Linked DNA regions of Homo sapiens: region 1 is linked to region 2. Evidence: promoter capture Hi-C in human tissues and cell types (Jung and others, 2019). All regions are on one chromosome and are shown on one strand. Each heading gives the region's core, a stretch centred on a gene start or on the middle of the fragment in contact. The rest is flanking DNA. Distances are from core to core; before and after follow the strand shown.

Region 1 (5,556 bases), core at 2,128-4,627, 150 kb before region 2:
CTGTAATCCCAGCACTTTGGGAAGCCGAAGTGGGTGGATCACCTGGAGGTCAGGAGTTCAAGACAAGCCTGGCCAATGTGGTGAAACCCTGTCTCTAATAAAAATACAAAAATTAGCCAGGCATGGTGGCGTGCCTCTGTAATCCCAGCTACTCAGGAGGCTGAGGCAGGAGAATTGCTTGAACCCGGGAGGCGGAAGTTGCAGTGAGCTGAGACCATGCCACTGCACTTCAGCATGGGGGACAGAGCCAGACTCCGTCTTAAAAAAAAAAAAAAAATGTAGAGTGTTTTCTAAAAACAATGAGAAAGCCAGTGAGGGGGTTGGAGTAGCAGCACATTAGGAAATGAGTCTGGAGAGTTAAATAGAATGCCCAAGCAGATATATAGAATGCCAATACAGGGCATTCTAGGGCATAATAAGGTGTTTAGATTTTGCTATTAAGTTTAATGGGATGCTTTTGTGCAGATGGTAATCATGATATGATTTAAATTTTTAGGAGTATTCCTTGGTTCCTTGGTGGTTGATAGAGTATAACAGGCCAAGTGTAGAATCATGGAGTCAAGTTGAGAGGTTACTATAATAGTTTAGGTGAGTTTTAATGACTACTTGGAATGGGTGGAAGTGGTTGAGATAATAGGAAATGGTCTGATTTAGGGCATATTTTAGACTCAAAAGTGACATAACTTGATGATGGGTTGGGTGTGAGGAAAAGAAAAATCAAGAATAATCCTTACATTTTTGGATTGAGCATCTGGGGGCATTGTGATGACATGTATTAAGATGGAGAAGATGAAAGAGGGAGAGGTGTAGGTGAGGAGAGGAATGCAAAACCAAGATTTCTCTTTCAAATATGCTAAAGTTGAGATGTTTAAGTGAACATCCAAGAGGAATGTTGAACAGGCAGTTGCATATAAAAGTCTGACCCTCATGAGCGACATTGGAGCTAGAGACATTGAGTTGGGAGTAATCAATATTATGCTGGCTAGCTTCTGTTTCTTCTCTAGTTCCCCTTTATCTATTCACATGAGTCAACTATGAATTCTCTTACCCTCTGGATTTTTATCAGTTTCTGCCAAAGGGAAGTTCTTGCAGTGGAAAGGAAGGAAGAAGATGATGTATTTATTCCTCTCTATGGTATTTTCATGGGCTGTCTGGTTCCCTCAACCAAATGTCATAGCTCCTACCAAATGGCCCTTTCTGTCCAGCTTTCCCTACTTGCAGTGTACACCCCTCTCCTTATCCTTTCTGCCCTAGGAGTGGTAGCAGATCCCTGATATTTCTTATTCTAGGTATTTCATTATCTCTTATGATTTCCCTACCCCCTGCTCACCCTTTGTAAAAATCTCTTTATTAAACACTCCTTTATTATCCTAATTTTAGTATGCCATCTGTTCCCTGCTGAGAGAGAAAATAAAACTGTGTTTTCCTGGTTCCCTCCCTATAGTCTAATAAGAATAATACAGTGATTGCTATTGGAAGTGGCCCCAGGAACTGACTCTCAAATGAGATTCTGGGATTATTTTCCACATGTTTGAAAAGTAAATTGATAACCCTCTTGCTAGGGAAGTGGAGGGGATGAGGCATGGGCAATGCATGGCATACAGCAGCATTATGCTTACCCAAATTATCACCAGTGGATGGGGCAAGGTATTGAGCAATCAAGTAGCTATGGTACTTATCACTGTGGCAACAATGGTGATTGTAAACATGGTGGCATCAGCTGGCTTATTTTGGTGGCCCTAAAGAATGTATAAAGGAAAAATTAAATATCAAACTGCAATTATACATAGAAAAATCAAGTCACTGGCAGCAATGAAGGAGTCCTTCATCTCCCGAAGTTGGGAAGATATGACTGAGAATCAAGCCCATGGCTGGAATGTAAGAGCTGAAAATTTGATAGCCAATTAAACCTACTAGATCTTTTATACCAAGGCAAAGGAGCTGGTAGAAAGGTGAAAAGAAAAATCTCGTGTGTTGAAATATGTACATTTGGGTAGACAAAAATGAGGCTGAGAACTTCAAATGGGTATATCCCTTGTCCTTGCCTTTCCAGCAGAGGCAGCCTCCCCCCAGTATGTTTTATTTTTTATTTTTATTTTTTATTTTACTTTTTTTTTTTGAGTCAGAGTCTCGCTCTTTCGCCCAGGCTGGAGTGCAGTGGCACAATCTCGGCTCACTGCAACCTCTGCCTCCTGGATTCAAGCAATTCTCCTGCCTCAGCCTCCCGAGTAGCTGGGACTACAGGCACCGCCACCATGCCCGGCTAATTTTTTGTATTTTTAATAGAGATGGGGTTTCACCGTGTTAGTCAGGATGGTCTTGATCTCTTGGCCTCGTGATCCACCCACCTCGGCCTCCCAAAGTGCTGGGATTACAGGCGTGAGCCACCGCGCCCGGCCTCCCCCCAGTATTTAAGGGAACCAGTGTTTTAATGGCTGGGTCTAGGTAGTTGCCTCTCAGACTGGTGCTTGTCCTTTCCTAGGATTAATTTCTACCACCCTTAATAATGGGTATTAGACTCTGATATAATCTAAAAGAGGAGTACAAGGCTGGAAGGAAGAAATCCTATACCATGAAAGACTTGTAGAACCTCATTGATTTCTATTGACAGGAATCTGGAGAGCACACAAGGAAGTAAATTATATGGCTGTTTGACCAAGGAAGAAAACATATGAGGCTGGATTAGGTTGAATTTATTGATAAGGGTTTATTCACTCAGGATTTTGGCTCAAATGTGTTGTCTGGAGCACCTAGGAGTTAAGTCTATTAAGTTGGTTATCTAAAATGTGGACTCTGTCAATAGTGGGGTAAATTCAATGAGTTTGAATAATGTAACTTCCCTGGCACAATATAGAAAAATCAAGTCTTAGGAAAATGGGAATGCTGGAATTGATTTATTATATGCTACTGGTCAGCCAGTCTTTATTTATATCACCCAAAAGGGCCCTGAGGCCACGCCCTTTACCAACACTTTTTAAAATGAATCTGTTGGTAAGGAGGGATACCATTATCCTTGAAAACCAAAGTAATGTTCTATGGTGGCTGTTCTCCAGAGGTGATGGTAGAGCATGGTACAATGGAGTTAGATTTCTTGATGACAATGGAAATAATAGGATGCCAGAGACTCAGAAGTCAAGTAGGGGTGCTTACTCGTTATAGATCAAGTGGGCACAATTACCATAATAAGCCACAACGATGGTTCCCTCCCTATAGTCATCAGGAAGTTTGACCTTCAGAGATCTTTGGCATCAGCTATTCAATCACAAGGTCCTTAAAACAAAATAAAAGGACTGTCCAACAAGGAGCTGTTTGGTCTATATAAGGAGAAAAATCCTAGGAGGTTTGGTGGGCTAAATAGTAACTTGATTTATGGTAGTGGAGATTCACTTATTCTTACTTTGTTCTCAGACCAAAGCCAATTTATAAGAGACCTTAGTTTGAGAAGGCCAGATCTATAAGGAATGACCTGGCAATCAGATCAAAGATACATAGCATGAGCCTTCCTCTACACCTGACTTAGGGTTACGTGTTACTACTTAATAATTATGCACTGGAGCAGTGGGTTTTAAACTTAAGTGTGCATCAGAATCACGCAGATGGCTTTTAGAACACAGATTTCTGGGTCTCACTGATTCAGTAAGTTTGGAGTGGAGACCCCAGAATTGATATTCCTAATAAGTCCTCAGGTGACACTGAAGCTGATGGTTTAGGGACCATAATTTGAGAATCCCTGCACTGGAGAACTACACACTTTATGGGATTATTGGATACAGTCTCTTAAATGATACTAATCCCTGGAGACCTAAAACACCACATAGGTCCAATGGTCAGAGTTGAGACTTACAGATATAAGTAAAATCTTAGTCCAAGTTTATTTCATAAGGTGTTCTGAGGGACTTCAGATCCATTTGTTTATAGGCCAAGAATGTATAGTGAGAATAAAAAAACTTAATAAAGAATTTCCTGATGCAGAGTGGGTTTTATTGCATAATAAGGTCCAAACTACATTTTGGACCCTTTTATTGCCTGCCTTTGCTAAGATACTAAGCTAAAAGTCCAGCAGGATGTGCTACCCCAAATGCTTAAACAATTACAGAGGTGGTATGAATTCCCCGTTTTATTCATTTGCATAGTGGCCTATGCAAAAGTCAGATGGGTCTTTAATAATGAGGATATATTATCAGAAACTTAATCAAGCAATGATATCAATCACATCTGACATTCTCAATATAGTATCTTTAGTGGAGGAAATCAGTATGGTCCCTGACCCCTGTGACTTAACAAACACATTTTCCCTTCCCTCCATTAGTAAAGATGAAAAGAAGCTCTTTCCTTCACATAGCAGGAATATCAATATGCCTTTACTCTCTTGACTTAACCTACCTCAGCTCATCTCCTGTTCATCTTAATATGATCTGGAGAGAACTTTATTGCCTTGATACATCACAGAACATGATGATGGGGCATCTTAAATCAGAAGACAACATCTTAAATGTAAGAGACAAGTGTCCCAAAGGGTTGTAAATAAACCCCATGAAAATGCAGGAACCTGTCACTGGTGAAGTTGCTAGGGGTATAGTGGTCTGGGCCATGTCAGCAGATCCTCCTTAAAGTAAGAGTTGATTTGCTGCACTTTCCAACGCAATGAAAGATGCACAATGTTTGATGTACACGTTTGGATTTTGGAGAAAACATATAACACATTTGGGCATGCTACTTTCATGAACTTAGTGGATAAGCTTAACATTACAAGATTTGAGTGGGTCCCAGAACAAGAAAAAGCTCTATAACTTGGCCTTATGACCTAAAAAAACCAATATTACTGGGTTTTAGAAGTGTCAATGGCAGACTGATACATCCACTCCATTTTCCACTTTGATCTGTAACCCAGAAGGCTAAACTATGCTAACTGATCAACAAGTTCTTTTGCTATTTACATGAAGTTTCTGGAAATTTCCAATAGGAGAATCAGTGTGGACCTATAGAAATTTTGAGTAAAATGCCCTCTTTCACTAACAAACTAGTCTCTGCAGAAAAAGCAACTATTTACTTGCTACCATACCCAGTAGAGAACAAATACCTAACCGTAAATACCCACGGTACTTACTATCCATCCCACTTGCTCATTTTTAACTGATGTTATATAATTTGTGGAACTAGCTGGGTACAGTTGCTCACATCTGTAATACTAATGCTTTTGGAGGCTGAGGCTGGAGGATCACTTAAACCCAGGAGTTTGAAACCCTGGGTTCAATTTTTTTTTAACATTTTAAAAAATTAGCCAGGCATGCTGGTACATGCCTGTAGTCCTAACTACTAAGGAGGCTGGGACAGGAGGATTGCTTGAACCTAGGAGTTCGAGCTATTATCATACTCCTGCACTCCAGCTTGTATGACAGATTGAGACTCTGTGTCTAAAAAATAGTAATAATTATAATTCTGGAACCATAAAATTAGAAGTCTGTAGAACATTTCTGTATAAAATGGAAATGATACCATGCAAGTCTAGAAGACATAAGTAAATTGCAGAAGGAGAGGGCTTAGATTCCTGTTGTA
Region 2 (5,932 bases), core at 1,840-4,339:
AGCAGAGCTGCCAGAGTGTGAGCACTTGCCCACTTTCTAGTCTTTTAGGTTTGTAGCTCTGGTTCCTTTAGGCCGCACATTTGAGACAAACAAAATCTAAAAATAATCAGAGTAAAGAATTAGAAAACAAGAGCCAGTAACGCCACTTTATACATATACACAAGTGTCTACTTTATATATATGTATGTAAACTTTCACCCCTAGAATTCTAATATATGATAACAAGGCTCCTAAGTTAACATCATTTGCACATCGGACATTTAAACATAGGGAAATGAATTATGTGACTATTATTTAATAGTAAGCAGAGACTTAAGAGGGGGGCAATTTACACACTCAAATCTGCTGTTAAATGTCATGAATTATATAATTGCCTATGCCAGTATGTTTTTCATGAATTATTGCAATGATTATTATTAGTACTACCTAGAAATCACATTTAAGTATCAATACGGTGAACAGTCAAACCATCCAATTTCTGCTCTCAGCACATTGTCCGAGCTCCGATTTAAAATTTATAAATGTAATATCCTCCTCATCACAGGCAGCAGCCCAATCTGCTCTGAATATATATTACAGCTTTAACATCACAGAGGGAAATCGCCCATCTGGCAATCCCATTCGCTCCAACAGCTCCGGGGGAAAAAAAGCTGTGCTCTCTCCTCCTTAAAACATTTCTCAGGGCAAATTATGTGCATCTAAAATAAACAGTCTTCTTATTGATCGCTTCAAAGTCAACAAGTTCCAAATGCAAAATTCAATCAAATCTTTCCTATCGTGTAAGTGTGGTGTGTATTTAGCTCAATAGTCACCAGAGTCCAACCAGACGTGTATGTCGCGCAACGGGTCTTGTAGTTCCTCTCTTCGTATTCACATTTGTGTTAGGAGAGAGCAGTGACCACGGCCACACTACAGACCCCTGGCAGCTTTGCCCCACTGTTATTTCTTTTTTCATATTCTCTCTTTCCTTCTTTCTCTCTTTTCAGGAGGAATTAACGGTCATGGGGTAAACATAGCAACAACCAAAAAAAAAAAAAAAAAAAACAGTCTAAAGTGGACATATCCTTTGGTTATGCAAAATACTTTAACATCTTTTTGTTGTTGTTGTTCCCTCTGTCTTAATTGAATATTACAAAGTGTACACAGGGCACTGCCACAAGAGCTATTGAAAATCCCCTCTCACTCCATTTAACTGACTTTTTTTTTTTGTAAAGAAAGGAAAGAGCGATTTCAAACGAAGTCAATTTCAGTGCCTGATTATTTAATTCTGTCACAAGTTAAAAGTAAAAAGCGCTGACAGGCAGACGAGTGAATGGAAAGGGGGAAGAAAAACCTATCCCTACTCTTTAAAAGACATCAAGGACTTTGGACAATCAAAATATAATTTTTATTTTCATGTAAAAGACACCTCTTCACTTACCCGCCCCCCCCAAAAAAAAACCACACTCAGAAGAACTGATTACTCCACAAAGTGCAAACATCAAGAGCAGATAGTCAAACTGCATTAATAGATTGAGAAAAATAAAATTTTCATCCAGTCCTGTTCCTGTGTGTGTACATATATATAGATACACTTTCATTAGTTAGTAATCTTTCCCAACACTCCTGCCCTCTCCCCTTTGCCCAGCCTCCCTCCTTCAAAAAAAAAAAAAAAAAAAACCCACACTGAGTTTAACTAATTTACATACTATTTGACTTCAGCAGTTATATATATATAGTGCATTACTAGTAACGTGCAACTTCTGGATGACAGCTAAAACCGATAAAAGTGGATTCAAGTAATATATTAATCAAAACTGCAATATACAAACAAGTGATAGCAAAAGAAAAAAAAGCATGGTGACATTAAACATATATTTTTTAAAAAAAGGAATTCTATATCATGAGCAACTGCTTGCCAGGCAGTCTTCAATGGTTTTATCATGCTATTTCATTTGTCTTTCCTATTTAGATGCAAAGGAAGTAAATTCCAAAACTGACATACCATAAACACTGGTGCTACTGATCATTTCTTGCTGGCAGCACAAAAAGCTGAATTGGATTTCTCACAAGCAGGAATTCCAAAGGTTGCTTTTCATTAAAGCCACTTTTCCTCTCAGCTATCAAATGTCACTGCCTTGAAACGTGGGCCCTTTCGTCAGGTATTCATTTAACCTACATGCATATAATTAAGGGGGAAAGCAACATCAACAAAAAGGGGATCTCAGATCACAGGAGAAGAAAGAAAGGAAAAAAAGCACATGACCAGGAATGCAAGTCCATGTCAATTTCACTCACTCCCATTGAAACTAACAAGAGCTCCGGGGAGGACGGTAATAGGATCAGTGGATTGTATATACCATTAAATTATACATCTTTCTCTCCCGTTCCTTGCCAACAATACGCCCACCACGCTGTACCCCCTCCTAGATGATGTGCTTACATTTTTCTGCAACCGATCTTCTGACATTTTCTCGTTCCCCCAGCCACGAGATTGTAATTTAACCTCAACTTTTTGTGTGTGTGCAAGATTCTTATTTACACTTCTTATTTACTTAGAAGTTAGTTCCCGAAGAAAGTCTAGCCCCACCCTATGGCTCCGCTTTCTTATTTTTTTATTTTTGAAGTAAAAAGATAGTAATAAGTAAGCCCAATATAGCGAAAAGCGAGATTCTTGCAATCGCGAACTCTTAATCCCATACTATTGTTACAATGATTAAGCAGCAAAAATATGCATTATAATGTTTCAGGGCTACTTTGAACAGAGAAATTAGACAGCAGGTTGGCGTACAGAATAGAAACGAGTGGAAATTGAATTTAATGTTTACGGCACAACTGAAGATCTCTTTTAATTACAGGTCTTGGATGTATTTATATTCTTTAAAAATAAAACAAAAACAAATTTAAACAGATGGTAGAAAACTACGAAGCTCCTCTTACCTGAACGCGCGGAGAGAGAACCCGATAGGTTAGCGTAGCATCGATCCGATGTGTTTGCTGATGAATGGAAGCTAGGGTTAAGTGAAGGTGCCTATGATTTGAAATCATTCCAAGTTTTTGAAGGGAAGACGGACTGCAGCCTCTGCCATGTTGGAATTTCAAACCCAAAACAGCTGCTTGGAAGGAGCCAGCATGCCAGAGGCTGGGCGCAGGCGCAGAGCGCCGCAGAGCCAAATTCAAATCACTTTCACACTAAGAGCCAAAGATCAGTTTTCAAAGGAGAGAGGGAGAAAGAGACGGAGGCTGCCGTGAGGGAGAGAAGACGGGAGGCAGTGGCGAGAGGCGGGCAGTGGAGAGAGACGGGCAGCGGGAGGACCAGGAGGGAGAGGGAGAGGCGCACGGAGCCCGCGGAGCTGGAGGGGGAGAAAGGGAGGCGGGAGGCGAGCCGGCGAGCGAGCTAGAGACGCGCCAGAGATTCATGGGCAGGGAGGGCTCAATGGCCGCGCCGCGCCGGCCGGCCGGCCGCTCGGGTCATGTTACACGGCCGGGGCCGCGGCGGCCGCCCAGCCTCGCCGATGCGCTCACGCGGCCCGGAGGGGGCCCCGAGGTCATGATTACGCGCGCGGGGACTCGCAGCTCTCCCTGCACGCACTCTCTGGCGGCCCAGCCTGGGGAAAGGGGAGCAGCGCCGTAGGGGGAAGGGGGCTTTCTTTCCCACGCGTGACCAGCCGGCCCCTGCGCTCCCCGGCCTGCGTTGGAGGGCCCGGGACAGAGCCGCGCTGCTCCCCGGCCCGCGGGCTCTTCCCTGCCGGTTCCCGGCCCTCTCGACAGCTGCGGCCCGTCCGCCCTTCCCCACCCCCTCTGCGCACGGGACGGGATCTGGTCTCGAGAGCCTGGACCTCACCGGCACCCTCCCCGGGGCCCCCAGCACCAGCCAGAAAACGACTTGATCTGCTTAGAAGAGGCAACTTCGGGGAGAAAATTCGCGTTCGCCCAGTTCCCCTCCCCCGCCTCCCTGTGAATAAATAAAATCCTAAGTGTCTAGGTGTGCGGTCCCCTCTCGCGCTCCCTGGCTCCCCTCCCTACCTCCCCCAGGCGGCTCGGGCTGGAGAAAGCAGCGCCCGGGGGGCCCTGGTGTCGGCGGCTGGTGCGCAGGCATAGACGTTAGGCTTCTGCCTTCCCAACCCCCCTCTATGGAGTAATCTGGGGACCCAGGAGTGGGAAGAGAGTAGGGGCTTTGTGGTGCTGGGAGCCGAGGAAGAATGAAATGTGCAGTTGAGTGTGTTGCTCGCATCCCAGGGAGCAATGCAGTGCTGATTGTCTGTTGCTGAGATAGCCTTTTGTTCGGAACATAAGGTTTAAGAAACACACACACGTTTTCTGGGGTCTCTTGTTAGATGTAAATGTGCGGCATCCAGACGCTTACTATGCAGTGTAAGCTCAGTTGGTTTACTAATCACCCCGCCCCACCCGCAAACAATCAGGATCATTTGAATGGGAACCTCATTCAGACTTCTAGGCTGAGAGTATTGCCTTCAACCTATTTCATTCTAGACTAGCCAACCATCCAACTGAGATAATAAAGCAAACAATAACATTTGATCATGATGTCTACGAGATAATGTGCCCGGCAAAGTTCTTTAGGAATTGTAATGAGAAAGAGAGTGAATTGGGTCATAATTTCTCTTCGTTTTCATTAAATATGACTTTAATAGATAAATGGTGAGTTTATACTTTGGCCTGGTAGACATCCAGTCTTCTATATTTCAACGAAGCTAAGAATGAAAGAGGCAAATTATATATTCCACCAGGAGCCCATCAAGCTGAAAATGTTACCTTTGAAGGTTGGAACCGAAAATGCACTTGCTGAGGACTGACCCTCCTCATAAGGGTGTTCACATTTCCCCCAGCTTCTCTGTTGTAGATTTGATAGCCTAAATTGCAGCTCTCCAGATGCTGAAATGCAGCTCTTTAAAAATGCCAAATATATACTTTGAAATTAATTCCATTCACCTTTTATGATGTTCTTACCTTTGAATGGATGCCTTTAGCTAACACACTGAGAAATAAAAATTATTTCAGTTAAATCTAGGCAGATGACAGAATTTAAAAGACAAAAAAAGAGTGATTCGAGATCCTAAGAAATATTTCTAAGCAATGAGATTTCTATTTGGAATGGATTTGACCTTTCTGTGAATTTTTTAAAAAAGGAGTCTTCGAAATAAAACAGAAGAACTTTATTCTGATGTAACAGAGAACACTGAAACCTCTTTAGTTATATTTTACAAGATGGCTTTGAAAATGATATTACGAAAAGTTGTTCATTGGATTTTACCACAAAGAAATAAGTGTAGGGAAATATCTGTGGGTCACTGTTGGATTGAGTACAGATGAATTAAAAAAAAAAAAAAAAACTGTGAAGCGCTCATAATCGCAGTTATTGCCCATTTGGGGAATGACGACCAAAAGTCCTCTGGACACACAGCAGATGCTCTGTGCAATTCGGGCAAAACTGCTCTGTTCTTGTTTGTTAAAAAAGTTCAGAGCTCATCAACCTTTAACATTAAATCCTAGCGTTGAATTTACAGTTCCTTGTGTAAATTCAAATAGTGAATAAAATATATAATACAGTGCCCACTGAATATAAAAACAATGTATTTTGATGACAGACTTAAAGCCATTCATCTGTAATATCTAAAATAAAACAACCCCTGCTCTTTAAAAAGAGGAGGAAAAAGTGTGGTCAGCAAGAGTTTATTAATAGATAATAACTGTACCTTTCCAATTCCCTTATAGATTCATTTGAAATACACATTATAAAAAAATCATTCAACATGCAAATAAATATAATTAACTTTGGAATCAAATAATTGGAAAACTGTTCAAAAGAGCACTGGATAGAGGTACAGAGTTTCTAAATTGTTCAAAATTACATATACTCTGGGAATAAAAGACACTTACATAATAGAATATACATTATGGGACTTCCATAATAATAAGATACACAGGAGAG

The links. The method cuts DNA at HindIII sites, captures the fragments that hold promoters and counts their contacts. A contact is called where the count stands out against the background at its distance.
Region 1: a contact is called between a fragment that was not itself captured here and the fragment with the promoter of FIGN in region 2, in 1 of the 25 tissues and cell types used here (mesenchymal stem cells).

What each region holds. Positions count from the first base shown.
Region 1 is chr2:163,579,312-163,584,867 of GRCh38, forward strand. No RefSeq gene overlaps it. Among named protein-coding and RNA genes, the nearest start is that of FIGN, 150 kb to the right of the region's middle. The HindIII fragment of the contact is 4,440 bases long and covers 1,158-5,556 here.
Region 2 is chr2:163,732,919-163,738,850 of GRCh38, forward strand. FIGN (fidgetin, microtubule severing factor) reads right to left here and starts at 3,090. Exons shown (of 3, transcript NM_018086.4): 1 at 2,920-3,090; 2 at 1,985-2,154. The coding sequence starts at 2,009. It overlaps LOC107985957 (a long non-coding RNA gene), which reads right to left and starts at 1,023. Exons shown (of 2, transcript XR_001739759.2): 1 at 1-1,023. RefSeq lists enhancers at 3,697-4,213, 4,214-4,729. The HindIII fragment of the contact is 21,926 bases long and covers 1-5,932 here.